Linked DNA regions of Homo sapiens: region 1 is linked to region 2. Evidence: promoter capture Hi-C in human tissues and cell types (Jung and others, 2019). All regions are on one chromosome and are shown on one strand. The core of a region is centred on a gene start or on the middle of the fragment in contact, and the rest is flanking DNA. Distances in the headings are between cores, read along the strand shown.

Evidence for each region. Contacts are between HindIII fragments. The study calls those that stand out against the background at their distance.
Region 1: a fragment that was not itself captured here is called in contact with the fragment with the promoter of SLC2A11 in region 2 in 2 of the 25 tissues and cell types used here (mesendoderm cells and spleen).

The regions. Positions count from the first base shown.
Region 1 is chr22:23,550,526-23,557,735 of GRCh38, forward strand. No RefSeq gene overlaps it. Among named protein-coding and RNA genes, the nearest start is that of PCAT14, 16 kb to the left of the region's middle. The HindIII fragment of the contact is 7,531 bases long and covers 1-6,618 here.
Region 2 is chr22:23,852,032-23,859,405 of GRCh38, forward strand. SLC2A11 (solute carrier family 2 member 11) reads left to right here and starts at 5,844. Exons shown (of 12, transcript NM_001024939.4): 1 at 5,844-5,998. The coding sequence starts at 5,969. The HindIII fragment of the contact is 17,543 bases long and covers 1-7,374 here.

The DNA of each region.
Region 1 (7,210 bases), core at 1,603-4,102, 300 kb before region 2:
TTCTCCCATACATCCTCTTATCCATCTTCTCATTCATCTTTCCATCCATCCTCCTATTTATTCCTCTGTCCATCCTCCCTTCCATCCTCCCATTCTCTCGTCTATCCTTCATTCATCCTCCTTCCATCTTCTCATGCATCCTCCATCCTTCCATCCATCTATCTTTCCATCAATTCTTCACCCGTCCTCCCATCCATCTTTTCATGCGTTCACCCATCCATCCTTCATTCATCATCCCATCCATCTTTTCATCCATCTTCCCATCCATCCTCCCATTTATTATCCCATGTATCCTTTATCCATTCTCCCACCTATTCTTTATTTATTCTCCCATCCATCCTCCTATTCATCTTTCCATCCATCCACCCTTCCATCCTCCCATTCATCCTCCCATTCATTCCCCCTTATATCCTTTGTCTATTCTCCCATCCATCCACGCTTCATCTTTCCATCTTTCCACCCATCCACCTTTCTATCCATCTTCTATCTATCCTCCCATCCATCTTTCCATCCATACTCCCATCCATTCTTCATTCTCCCATCCATCTTTTTATCCATCCTTCACCTGTCCTCCCATCTGTCCTCCATCCATCTATCATCCTATCCATCCTCCCATCCATCCATCTTCTCATCTATCCATTCTCCCTCCATTATCCCATCCATCTTCCATCCTTCATTCATCCTCCCATCCATCCTCCAATCATCCTCCCAACCATCCTTCCATCCATCCCCCCATCCATTATCCATCCACCATCCATCCTCTCATCCATCCTTCATTCATCTTCTATCCATCTTTCCATTTATCCTTCAACCACCCTCTCATCCATTCTCCCATCCATACCCCATTCATCTTTTCACCCATCCTCCCAGCCATCCTCCATCCACACTTCATCCATCCTTCATTCCTCCTCTCATCCATCCTTCCATTCTCTTATCCATCTTCCATTTATTCCTCTGTTCACCCTGCCATTTATCCTCCCATTCACTCTCCAATCTATCCTCCATCCATTCTCCATCCATTCTCCCATCCATTTTTCCATCCATCCTCCAATTCATTCCTCTGTCTATCCCCATCCATCATCACCATCCTCCCATCCATTCTCCCTTTTGTTCTCCATCTATCTTTCCATCCATCCTTCCAGCAATCCTCCATCCATCCTTCATCCATCTTCTGTTCATCCTCCATTCATTCTCTTTCCACTTTCCCATCCATCCTCCCTCCATTCTCTATCCATCCTCTCATCCATTTTTTCCTTCCATCCTCCATCCATTCTCCCATCCTTTTGTCGATCCTCCCATGCATCCTCCCATCCATCTTTCATTTCATCCTTCAACCACCCTCCCATTCATCCTCTACTCATCTTTTCATCCATCCTCCCAGCCATTCTCCATCCATCTTTCATCCATCCTCCATCCATCTTCCATTCATCCACCCATCCACCCTCCCATCAATCCTCCCATCTTTCTTTCCATTCATCTTTCCTCTATTTCTCTGTCCACCCTCTATCCATCCTCCCATCCACCCTACCGTCTATCTTCCATCCATTCTCCATTTATCTTCCCATCCATTCTCCCTCCATCTTATTCTTCATTCATCCTCCCATCCATCTTTTTCATCCATCCTCCCATTCATTCCTCTGTCTATCCTCTCCTGCATCTTCCCATCCATTTTCCCATCTATCCTTCATTCATCCCGTCATCCATCCTCTTATTCATCTTTACATCCATCCTCCCATCCATCTTTTCATCCATCCTCCCATTCATTCCTCTGTCTATCCTCCCATGCATTCTACCATCCATTTTCTCATCTATCCTTCATTCATCCTGTCATCCATCCTCCCATCCATCTTTCCATCCATCCACCCATCCATCCTTCATTCATCCTCCCATTCATTTTTCCATCCATCCTCCCATTCATCCATTCTCCCTCTATCCTCCCATCCATCCTTTCATCCATCCTTTCGTCAATTTTCTCATCAATGCTCCCATCCATCTTTCCATTTATCTTCCATCCATTCCTCTGTCCACCCTCTCATCCATTCTCCCATCAATCTTCCATTCATTCTCCATCCATCCTCTCTTCTACCTCCCTCCACCTTCCCATCTATCCTCCATCTATCCTCCCATCCATCCTCCCATCCATCTTTCCATCCATTCTCCTATCCATTCTTCTGTCCATCCTCCCATGCATCCTCCCATCCATTTTCCCATCTATCCTTCATCTTTCCTCCCACCCATCCTCCCATCCATCTTTCTATCCATCCACCCATTCATCTTTCATTCATCCTTGCATCCATTTTTCCATCCATCCTTCAGCCATCTTCCCATCCATCTTCTCATCAATCCTCTCATCCATCTTTCCATCCATTCTCCCCCATCCTCCCATCCATCCTTTCATCCATCCTCCCATCCACCCTTGCAACAATTTTTCCATCCATCCTCCCATCCACCTTCCCATCAATCTCCCTTCAGTCTCCATTCATTCTCCTCTATTCCTTGTTCATTCTCTTATCCTCCCATGCCCCAAGCCCTCACTCAGGCTTTGTCATGCCTCTAAGCCTTAATATAGGCTGTTCTCTCAGCCAGGCCTGCTTTTTCTCCTCTTTGTTGGCCCAGGGACTCACACCTGTGTGGGACCTGCCCTGATACACTCCACACCCTCTCCTCCTGCACCTGGCCCTGCCTCTGCAGTACCAACTTCTCAGTGTCCACCTCAGTGCCAGCCACAGATGGGGAGTTCTGGTGGCCTTGCTGGCCCATGACCTCATTGGGGCCTGCTCTCTTGTGGCTCACCCCAAAGCAGAGGGAGTAGAGCCACCTCAGGGACACACACGGTGGGCTGCGCCTTGGGAGAACACAACTAATTTTAACAATGGCCTTAGGGAAGAGACAAATCTGTCCCTTTATTCCCTCCTTAGAGAAAAATCTGTGTGTGCATGTGTATATGCACACATGATTCAGAGCATCAAACGCTGCTGTGACTCGGGTGTCACCAGCCTCATTTGCCCAGTGCTAGAGGGGACAAACACACGACCTCCAGCCACAGGATAGTAGCTCTACATGCTGACTCTTGGCAAGCAGGGCCTGGTGTTTGTCCAGACGCCCAAACCCCTGGGGATGTCCTCACCTGGTTATGTGGTGCCCAGCAGTGTTTCAGTGAACCTTAACCAACCTTGGAGGGCTGCTGGGCAGAGTGGGAGAGCAAGTGTCTGGCTCCTGGTGAGTGGGTGCCCTTGTGCCAGCTAATGACCCCCATGGCCTTCAGCTGCTTTCCTGTCGACTGGGGAGGGGGTGCTCCCAGGCTGCTGTGAGGAGGTGGCCAGAAGAGCGGGAACAGTCCTATGTGTTTCCTTCTCTCCAGAGAGCCTGACCAGGGCTGATGAATTAGGGTGCATGGCCCAATTCACTGTCCATGGATCCACCTTGGATTTGGGGTCCCTGTGGGGATGTGAAGCTTCGGAAACTCCTCTGTCCCCCCACCTTCCTTTTCCCTTCCAAGACAGGATCTGGACTCTTGAAATTCTGCACACTAATAAAATTGTAACTAATTTACATCCAAGATGCGGAGTGAGTGGCAGCGGTTGTCATGGAGACCATCTCCAGGGCCCCGCTGCCTTCGCCTTTCGGTGCAGCCGAGAGTTCAAGAGATTCTCGCCGAGTGCTGCAGCTGGGGCCAGTCCTCATGCCTCCCGGGCACCCTGCCCTGCTCCCCCCATGCTGGGCAGGCCCTTGGGGGATGGAATGGAGGCAGCCCCCCTTGGAAAGGCCCCAAGTTCTGCCGATGGTGTTCTGAAGGTCAAAGTCCCTCTCTCCTGACTGTACATCTGCCCCCAGCACTGCCCATTCACCCTGTGGGCCCCACTGGCTCCGTTCACTCCAGATGGAAGCCCCCTCGAGGGACATGAGGCCCTATCCCCACAGCACAGCCAGCAAAGGCACTCAGAGTGGGGACAGTTTCCAGGGAAGGGGCAGAGCAGCAGAGCCCAAGCCACCCACAGACCTGTCCACCTGGGGTCCACCCTGGGAAATGCCCCACCCTGGACTCCATGAATCCCAAGATGGAGAAAATGCCCTCCGTGGCCTCACAGAGCTTGCCTGCCCACAGGAAAGACGTTGAAATAACCAGTACTGGCCAGGTGCGGTGGCTCATGCCTGTAATCCTAACATCTAGGGAGGCTGAGATGGGCGGGTCACTTGAGGTCAGGAGTTTGAGACCACCATGGCCAACATGGTGAAAACCGGTCTCTACTAAAAATACAAAAATTAGCCGAGGCATGGTGACTCGCGCCTGTAGTCCCAGCTATTTGGGAGGCTGAGGCAGGAGAATTGCTTGAACCCAGGAGACGGAGGTTGCAGTGAGCTGAGATCATGCCACTGCACCCCAACCGGGGCAACAGAGTGAGACTCCGTATCAAAAAAAAAAAGAAAAAGAAAAAAACGAACCAGTGCTGTGACTCTACGCCACACACTGTGCTGAACCCTTCGCATGTGAGATCTTGTCTCAATGTCAAGGCAACACAATGCGGTGGGCAATACTTTAAGCCCCCATTTCATCACGAACAAAAAGGTTGTAGACAGGTGGGTGGATAACACCCAAGTTCGGAGCCCTGGAAAGTACAAGGGCCTGAGGCAAAGCCAGGTCTCATTCTAAAACCGTCATGGAAAAGCTGATAAGCTGCCTGCAGAGAAGAAGCAGGATGAAATAATTATAACAAAGCAGGGTCGATGCAGTCAGAGAAGGGGGTGAGGGCACAAAGGGGCCCTCAGAATCATGAAATCTAAGTTGGGTTTTGAGGGATGAATAGGAGTTCCCCAAGGAGATACATGGAAGAAGAATGTTCTAGGCAGAGGGAACATGTGCAAAGGCACGGAGACGAGAATGTGCCCAGAACATTCAAATACCATAGGCTGGGTGCTGGGGGGTGATGCGGAGGAGGGAGGCGTTCAGTTGGAGCCGAAGAGGGAGCCAGGCTCCAAGGGGCTTCACTCACCAAGCTGAGCGCCCTGCACCTTATCCTGTAGGTGAGAGATTAAAGAGCTGGGTCCAAGCAGGCCCACCCCTGACATCTGTGGGCCCTGGAGCAAGAGCAGAAATGAAGGTCCAGGTAGCAAAGGTCTAGGTGTTCCCAAGTGAGAGAAGCAGCCAGGACGCTGCTGGCTGAAGGGCTCTTCTGTCCTCCTTCCCTCAGAAATGCCTTCACGGGCCTGGGGAGGCCAGGCTCTCATTTATATTCTTGTCTCTTCAGAGTTTTCCACCAGAACGTGAACTGGACCGGGGGCCACAGTCCCCCAGTCTGAAGGGAGACTCATGAAATGCAGATTCCTGGGCCCTGCGGCAGACCCAGGAGACCATGCTCCCGATGAAGATAAGGCGCTATATCTTTAAGAGGTTCCCCAGGTGATAATTATGCATGAAAGTCTAGAGAAGCCCCCCACCCCCTGCTGAAAGTAGCAGGAGTCCGGGGGTGGGGGTGGGGGGTACGTACAAGCAGATTTGTGTTCTAGAAATGGATCCCCAGCTATTGGGCAAATGTGGGCAGGGAGGAGAGCTGGGAGGGGCAGAGAGGCCTGGCAGCACCTAGGTTGGAGAGGGTGGCGGTCTGGTGCCAAGGCAGGATGGTTGGGTGGGGTGTGATACGCGGTGGGGGTGGTGGAGGGGGAAGGTTGTGTCAGCAGAGGCTGAGTTTGAAATTCACGATGGACAGGGCCTGGTGCTGATGAGGCTTGAAGGTGAGCAGGGATCCAGGGCAGCTCCTTTGGGATCATAAAATCTAATCAGACTGCAGGAGGCCTGGGCCCTGGGCCTCCATTAGGCAAGTACCCACTCCCCTCTGCTGATCTGGGCATCCCTGGGGCCCCTTCACTGTCACACTGAGGGTCTGAGTGGGGAAGAATTAAAAGCCCACCTCTGTCCCCGCCTACCACGATCCCCTACAGGAGCCTGCAGCCCTGCTGGGGAGACTGGAGGAGCAGCTGGGAGCAGCAGGCCACCAGGAGGGAAAGGTGGGCATGCCTCGGGGGTGGGAGGGTGGAGTGGCCAGGAGGGGAGGCTTCCCACTGGAGGAGGACTTTGAACCCTCTCACTTTCCATACACAGTTCCAGAAATCATCTTGATAATAAAAATAATAGCCGTGAAAATGACAGCAGCAACTATTGCCCTTAATCGAGCATATTTTTGTGCCAGACACTGAGCATGCAGCAAGGAAGTGGCAGAGTGGGCTGTCAGATCCTGAGCCATGGGCTGGAACCAGCTTTCCCTGTGCCAAGCAGAGAGGGGCTTAAAACTCAACTCCTACCCTTGGAACATTCACAAGCTGTTTGGCCATGAGACTGCTGGAGATGCCTCTCTAGGAGCATCTAGAAGGCTCTAGAAGGTCCATGCCTCTCTAGAAGGCTACGCTGGCAAACACTAGCTGTTGAGACCATGGAGGACTAGACTGTATTTATCAGCTGCAGGAGTTCAGAAGAGGGAGAGCTCATGGGAGCTGCTGGGAAAGGCATGACTTGAGCTGAATGCTGAAACAGCGGCCGCATTTGAAGAAGGGAGAGGAGGTGGAGAGGGGATCCTGGAAGGAGGCTCCAGCCTCGGCAATGGTGTGGGGGTGAGAATGCAGAAGGAGTTTCAAGAAGGTCAAACAGCTGCAGGGGCTGGCGAGTCACTGGAGGCAGGGATGGACACAGATCAGCCCAGGCCTGGTGCGTGTCCTCCTGCTTATTTCTATACCTCCAGGAGAGTATGACACCAGGACATCAAGGCGTCCACCCTTGTCAGGCCTGGGATGGTGCCGCACTGTTGGGGATGGGTTTGTGAGTTCCCAAGAAGAGCCACCCAGTAAGGGCCTCATCATGAAGGGGAGTGAGCTGAGGCTCTTGGGAAAATGGAGGCCTCAGATCTCCCCACAATCTTGGGAGAAAGGCTCCCATACCCCACACCCACCTTGACCAAGGGCCCAAAACCAGACGGGCAACAATGCAGGTCCAGAGTCATCAGCTTGGCCTGACTGTCCCCTGTCTGCCTCCAGCAGAGGTGAGTACCTTGGGTCCAAACCCTTCTGCCCCATTTACTGTGTGACCCCAGAGAAGTTCCTTAACCTCTCTGAACTGAATTTTCTCACTCATAGAGCGAGGATAAAAACTCCAGCCTCCAAAAGCGTATTGATTTGTTTTAGGATTAAATGGGATGAAGCTAAGAACTCACTTAATGGGGAT
Region 2 (7,374 bases), core at 4,594-7,093:
AACTCCTGAGATCAAGCGATCTGCCCCGCCTTGGCCTCCCAAGTGCTGAGATTATAGGCATGAGCCACCGTGTCAAGCCTGTTTGCCCATTTTCTTTTCCTTATTGGTATGTGGGTATTCTATATACATTCTGAATACTAATACTGTGTTGGTCATATGTTGTAGTTACCTTCTTCTACTTGGTAGCTTTAGGTTTCAACTTTTTAAAAAATGCGTATTTTTTTATTTAAAAAATCGAGATGTGGTCTCACTATGTTGTCAGGGCTGGTCTCGAACTCTTGAACTCAAGTGATCCTCCCACTTCGGCCTCCCAAAGTGCTAGGATCGCAGGCTGGAGCCACCACACCTGGCCAGGTTTCACCTTTTCATGGCGTCTTTTGTTTGTTTATTTGAGACAGGGTCTTACTCTGTTGCCCCAGTTGGAGTGCAGTGCTGTGATCACCGATTACTGCAGCCTCAACTTCCCTGGCTCAGGTAATCCTCCCTGAGCCTCAGTCTCCTGGGTAGCTGGGACCACAGGCTCAAGCCATCATGCCCGGCTAATTTTTTGTAATTTTTGTAGAGACGGGGTTTTGCCATGCTGCCCGGGCTGTTCTCAAACTCCTGGGCTCAAGCAATCCACCCACCGTGGCCTCCCAAGGTACTTGGATTACAGGCGTAAACCACTGTGCCTGGCCCATTAATGGTGTCTTTTAACACACAGATTTTTAATTTTAATAAGGTTAAATCCTCATAAGAAATCTGCGTGGTTTATCCTTGTTTAACCCGGGGTTATAAAAGTATTATATATTTCCTTTTTATTTTTATTTTTTGAGATGGAGTTTCACTCTGTCATCTAGGCTGGAGTACAGTGGCGCAATCTTGGCTCACTGCAACCTCTGTCTCCTGGGTTCAGGTGACTCTCCTGCCTCAGCCTCCTGAGTAGCTGGGATTACAGGTGCCCGCCACCACACCCAGCTAATTTTTGTATTTTTAGTAGAGACGGGGTTTCGCCATGTTGGCCAGGCTGGTCTGGAACTCCTGACCTCAGGTGATCCACCTGCCTTGGCCTCCCAAAGTGCTCGGATTACAGGCATTAGCCACCTCGCCCGGCCTTTACATTTTTTTTTATAGAGATGGGGGTCTGCCCATGTTGCCCAGGCTGGTCTTGAACTTATGCGCTCAAGTGATCCTCCTGCCTCAGTCTCCCAAAGTGCTGGGATTACAGGTGGGAGCTACTGCGTCCAGCCTAAAATGTTTGAAGTTAGGTTTTTGCATTAGGTTTGTGTGTACCTGGAATGACTTTTGTATATGAAGTGAGACAGAGGTCCACACTTTTTCCCCATATCATCAACTGTCCTAGCGCCATTTATTAGCCCGTCACTTCCCACTTATTTATTATTATTATTTTTTGAGACGGAGTCTCTCTGTCGCCCAGACGGGAGTGCAGTGGCACGACCTTGGCTCACTGCAAGCTCCGCCTCCCGGGTTCACGCCATTCTCTCGCCTCAGCCTCCCGAGTAGCTGGGACTACAGGAGCGTGCCGCCACGCCCGGCTAATTTTTTGTATTTTTAATAGAGACAGGGTTTCACCGTGTTAGCCAGGATGGTCTCGATCTCCTGACCTCGTGATCTGCCTGCCTCGGCCTCCCAAAGTGCTGGGATTACAGGCGTGAGCCACCGCACCCGGCCACTTCCCACTTATTTCTTAAGGGGGAAAAGGCAATGGTTGTTTTGAAAAAAAATTAACCTGCTCTCCCTCTCCCTCTCCCTCTCCCTCTCCCTCTCCCTCCCCCTCCCCCTCCCTCTCCCTCTCCCTCTCCCTCTCCCTCCACGGTCTCCCTCTGATGCCGAGCCAAGGCTGGACGGTACTGCTGCCATCTCGGCTCACTGCAACCTCCCTGCCTGATTCTCCTGCCTCAGCCTGCCGAGTGCCTGCGATTGCAGGCGCGCACCGCCACGCCTGACTGGTTTTCGTTTTTTTTTTGGTGGAGACGGGGTTTCGCTGTGTTGGCCGGGCTGGTCTCCAGCTCCTAGCCGCGAGTGATCCGCCAGCCTCGGCCTCCCGAGGTGCCGGGATTGCAGATGGAGTCTCGTTCACTCAGTGCTCAATGGTGCCCAGGCTGGAGTGCAGTGGCGTGATCTCGGCTCGCTGCAACCACCTCCCAGCCGCCTGCCTTGGCCTCCCGGAGAGCCGAGATTGCAGCCTCTGCCCGGCCGCCACCCCGTATGGGAAGTGAGGAGCGTCTCTGCTTGGCCACCCATCGTCTGGGATGTGAGGAGCCCCTCTGCCTGGCTGCCCAGTCTGGAAAGTGAGGAGCGTCTCTGCCCGGCCGCCATCCCATCTGGGAAGCGAGGAGCGCCTCTTCCCCGCCGCCATCCCATCTAGGAAGTGAGGAGCGTCTCTGCCCGGCCGCCCATCGTCTGAGATGTGGGGAGCACCTCTGCCCCGCCGCCCTGTCTGGGATGTGAGGAGCGCCTCTGCTGGGCCGCAGCCCTGTCTGGGAGGTGGGGAGCGTCTCTGCCCGGCTGCTCCGTCTGAGAAGTGAGGAAACCCTCTGCCTGGCAACCGCCCCGTCTGAGAAGTGAGGAGCCCCTCCGTCCGGCAACCACCCCGTCTGGGAAGTGAGGAGCGTCTCCGCCCAGCAGCCACCCCGTCCGGGAGGGAGGTGGGGGGGGTCAGCCCCCCGCCCGGCCAGCCGCCCCGTCCTGGAGGTGAGGGGCTCCTCTGCCCGGCCGCCCCTACTGGGAAGTGAGGAGCCCCTCTGCCCGGCCAGACGCCCCGTCCAGGAGGGAGGTGGGGGGGTCAGCCCCCCGCCCGGCCAGCCGCCCAGTCCGGGAGGGAGGTGGGGGGTCAGCCCCCCGCCCGGCCAGCCGCCCCGTCTGGGAGGGAGGTGGGGGGATCAGCCCCCCGCCTGGCCAGCCGCCCCATCCGGGAGGTGAGGGGCGCCTCTGCCCGGCCGCCCCTACTGGGAAGTGAGGAGCCCCTCTGCCCGGCCAGCCGCCCCGCCCGGGAGGGAGGTGGGGGGGTCATCCCCCCACCTGGCCAGCCGCCCCATCCGGGAGGGAGGTGGGGGGGTCAGCCCCCTGCCCGGCCAGCCGCCCCGTCCGGGAGGGGGGAGGGGGGGTCAGCCCCCTGCCCGGCCAGCCGCCCCGTCCGGGAGGGAGGTGGGGGGGGTCAGCCCCCCGCCTGGCCAGCCGCCCCGTCCGGGAGGGAGGTGGGGGGATCAGCCCCCCGCCTGGCCAGTCGCCCCGTCCGGGAGGTGAGGGGCGCCTCTGCCCGGCCGCCCCTACTGGAAAGTGAGGAGCCCCTCTGCCCGGCCAGCCGCCCCGTCCGGGAGGGAGGCGGGGTGGGGGGGGGGGGGTCGGCCAGCCGCCCCGTCCGGGAGGGAGGTGGGGGGGGTCAGCCCCCCTTCCGGCCGGCCGCCCCGTCCGGGAGGTGAGGGGCGCCTCTGCCCGGCCGCCCCTACTGGGAAGTGAGGACCCCTCTGCCCGGCCAGCCGCCCCGTCCGGGAGGGAGGTGGGGGGGACAGCCCCCCGCCCAGCCAGCCGCCCTATCCAGGAGGTGAGGGGCGCCTCTGCCCGGCCGTCCCTACTGGGAAGTGAGGAGCCCCTCTGCCTGGCCAGCCGCCCCGTCCGGGAGGGTGGTGGGGGGGTCAGCCCCCCGCCCGGCCAGCCGCCCCATCCGGGAGGTGAGGGGCGCTTCTGCCCGGCCGCCCCTACTGGGAAGTGAGGAGCCCCTCTGCCCGGCCACGACCCCGTCTGGGAGGTGTGCCCAGCGGCTCATTGGGGATGGGCCATGATGACAATGGCGGTTTTGTGGAATAGAAAGGCGGGAAGGGTGGGGAAAAAATTGAGAAATCGGATGGTTGCCGGGTCTCTGTGGATAGAAGTAGACATGGGAGACTTTTCATTTTGTTCTGTACTAAGAAAAATTCTTCTGCCTTGGGATCCTGTTGATCTGTGACCTTATCCCCAACCCTGTGCTCTCTGAAACATGTGCTGTGTCCACTCAGGGTTAAATGGATTAAGGGCGGTGCAAGATGTGCTTTGTTAAACAGATGCTTGAAGGCAGCATGCTCGTTAAGAGTCATCACCACTCCCTAATCTTAAGTACCCAGGGACACAAACACTGCGGAAGGCCAAGGCCGCAGGGTCCTCTGCCTAGGAAAACCAGAGACCTTTGTTCACTTGTTTATCTGCTGACCTTCCCTCCACTATTGTCCTATGACCCTGCCAAATCCCCCTCTGCGAGAAACACCCAAGAATGATCAATAAAAAAAAAATAAATAAATTAAAAAAAAAAAAGAAAAAAATTAACCTATCAAAATAAAATATCAGCAGTTGAAACTAACAATGTATTAATAACAATAATATTATGACCAAGTTGCGTCTACCCCAAGAATTCAAGAATGGTTTACCATTAGAAAGTTTATTGATGTAACTGATCTCATTAACAGATTAAAGGAGAATACCCATATGATCATCTTAATAGATGCACGAAAAGCATGCAATAAAATACCTATTTATTATAACTGCTAATATTTTGTGTTTTTCCTTAAAAATGCAGTGTTTTTAGGAATTAAAGTTCAGAGCAGCAAAAGTCAAACAAAAACCAAGTCTGAGCAATAGAGCTACTACAGTGCCCATCACAGTGTCTGCTCAGGTGACTTCTTAAGGTCATGTCCAGCTCTATGTTTCTGTGACCACAAATAGCATCTTTGGCAAGTCTAGTTTCAGTTGGTCTTTGTCCAGCTCCTGGATTCCTCCATGCAGGGCCTGAGAAGCCCTGAGGGATAAAAGATTAATCCGGTTCAGTGGACTCTGTGGTTCCTCAACTCCAAGTGCCCCCAGCATAAGTCGGACCTGCCTCTCACGCAATGGATCCCCTGGCGGCAACCCGAGACCGGTTCTCCTACCCGCATTCCGCCAAGTCTCTCGCTCTGCCCAGGACGCACAGATGAGAGCGCTCCGAAGACTGGTGGGTCTATCTTTCGGTCTTTCCTAATTTTCCCGTCCTCTGGGGAAAGGTCGGGGATACCTGAACCAAAGTGTGTGTGTGTGGGGGGGGGGGGGTGTAGGTGGGGCGTGCATAGATGTGCACAACCAAGGGCTTGGCCCTCCGGAGAACGCCCAGGGGCAGTGGCCTCCGAGGTTCTGGCGGCCGGCAGTGGCGACCGGCGCAGGGAATCGCGCAGGGTTGCGGCTGAGGTCAGACCAGCGAGAGACAGAGACCCGCAGACATTTAGTCCAGAGACTGTAGCAAAGGAGGGGGACGAGGGGCCAGAGCCGGAATTTCGGGGGAGGACTTGGGAGCGCGGCGACCAGAGTCGCTTGCTGGCACTTGCGAGGGCGAATGCAGGGGCTTGGCCGAGATGACCTTGGACCAGAGCTCCCTTCCGGCCTGCAGAGATGAGCTTGGGGCTTAGCCGAGTAAGGAGTGAGCGGCTTTTCAGCCTCAGTGCTGCGGCAGAGGCGGATGGAGGATGAACTGGAGCCGTCCTTACGGCCTCGGACGCAGGTGAGCTCCCAGCGGCGGCGACAAACCCCGCGGCGGTGACCCCAAACCCCCCCCCCGCGGCGGCGACTCCCCCCCAACACGCTGGGGCGAACTCCCCAGCACCCCCAGCCCTTCTTAAAAACGCTGAGTCCGCGCATGCGCCTCAGGCGCCCTCCGCGACACTCTAGCGGCTCTGCGCTTCACTGCGCCTGAGCTTGAGTCTCAGGCCTTAGTCCCGGCCATCGTTTAGCGTTGCGCGAACCCTCAGCTGGTGCGGCCGCTCTCAATACCCACTGCGCTTGCGCTACAGCTTCGTCTCGACGGGTTTGCTCCTCTCAAACGCTCACTGCGCGTGCGCTAGCGCCTCTTTCACCACTGGGCGCTGCGCGCTGCCCTTCCCTCCGCGCACAGGCTGCCGGCTCACCGCTTGCTAATGGCAGCCGGGGTCTCCCTGGGACAGCAAGACCTCCGCTCAGGCCCCTCTTTCGAATGCTCCACGCCCTCCTGCGATCTAGAATGGTATGAATTCTCATACTTGCCCAGACCAGGCGTTTCAGATGAGGGATTGCGGACCTGAGTGAACTGCGCAGGTGCAGCCACCTGGGAGGCTTAACTAAGTCGTCAAATGTTCAAAAATATCGTGCTTGTATGTACAGTGGCGTTAGGTGCTAGGCTCAGATGTGCATAGGCAGGTGTTTACGCCCAGGGTCGGCCTGTGGGCCAGAGCAAGGTTGCTGGACCCTGGCATCCCAGCCCCCAGAGATGCTAAATCCTCTGCCGATCAGCCCTGACCTCAGAGGCAGTAAGCCCTCCGAGCGCTGCAATCCTGACTGCTCGCCCCCTCCCGAGACTGTTTCCCACCCCCGCCTCTTTCCTCCTCATGCTCCCTCAGCTCTGACCTGACGTCCTGCCTCACAGAGGGAAAGGGCGCAGCCAGAGGAGAGCGCCCGCACTGCACTGCCCACCGCTTCTAGGGGTTCCTTCCCAATCTGGACTGATTTCTTTAGGTATTTGCATGGCACATTCCCTCACCTCCTTTGTCTTGATTTGCACTTGTATTCCTTGACAGCCTTATTTAAAATAGCACCAACTAAGGTGGGAGGATCGCCCAGGAGTTCGAAGCTGCAGGGATCTAATAGGATCTCACCACTGCACTCCAGCGTGGGCGACGTAGCGAGACCTTGTCTCTAAAAAATAAAAATAAAATAAAATAAAATAAAATAGCACCACCTGGTCCAAACACTTCCTACGCCCCTTCACTGCTTTAAGTCTCTGTAGCACCAGCTGATGTACTATATATTTTGCTTGTTCATTTTGCGATTGCTTGTCTTTCTCTGCTGGAAGGAAAGCTCTGACAGCTCATGGATTTTGTCTGTTGTTCACTGCTGTATCCCAACACCTAGAACAGTAGGATTATTGACCATAATAGGGAGGCAATAAATCTTTGTTTGCTGAATTAATGGTCCCTATCGTAGCTAATGTCTGAATGCTTACCATGACCAGGCACGGTATAGGCAATCTCCATGCATGATCTCATTGAATTCAACGATTTCCTGTAGTCTTAGAGACCTGTCAATATCTCCTGCTACATGAGCTCAGCTGCCATCAAGCACTGTGTTCGCTGCTTCCTTCACATCTGCTGTCTTAAGGGAGCTCTCACTTCCATGCGGCCCCCGTGGAGCTGTAATTTGGCCTCAATGGGACCAGATGCCAGGTTTCTCACCTGGCTTCTTCCTAAGGCTTCCAGCCTTAGAGAAAGTTACTTAGGCCTTATTGGAACTATGGGCAGCCAGGGCCCCTGTCACCAACCTGTCTCCAGACCTATGGCAAGGCCTTCAGCAGGATTCTGCCCTCCAGAGCCACTTCCTCTGCTCCCCCAGCCTCCAGTGCAGTAT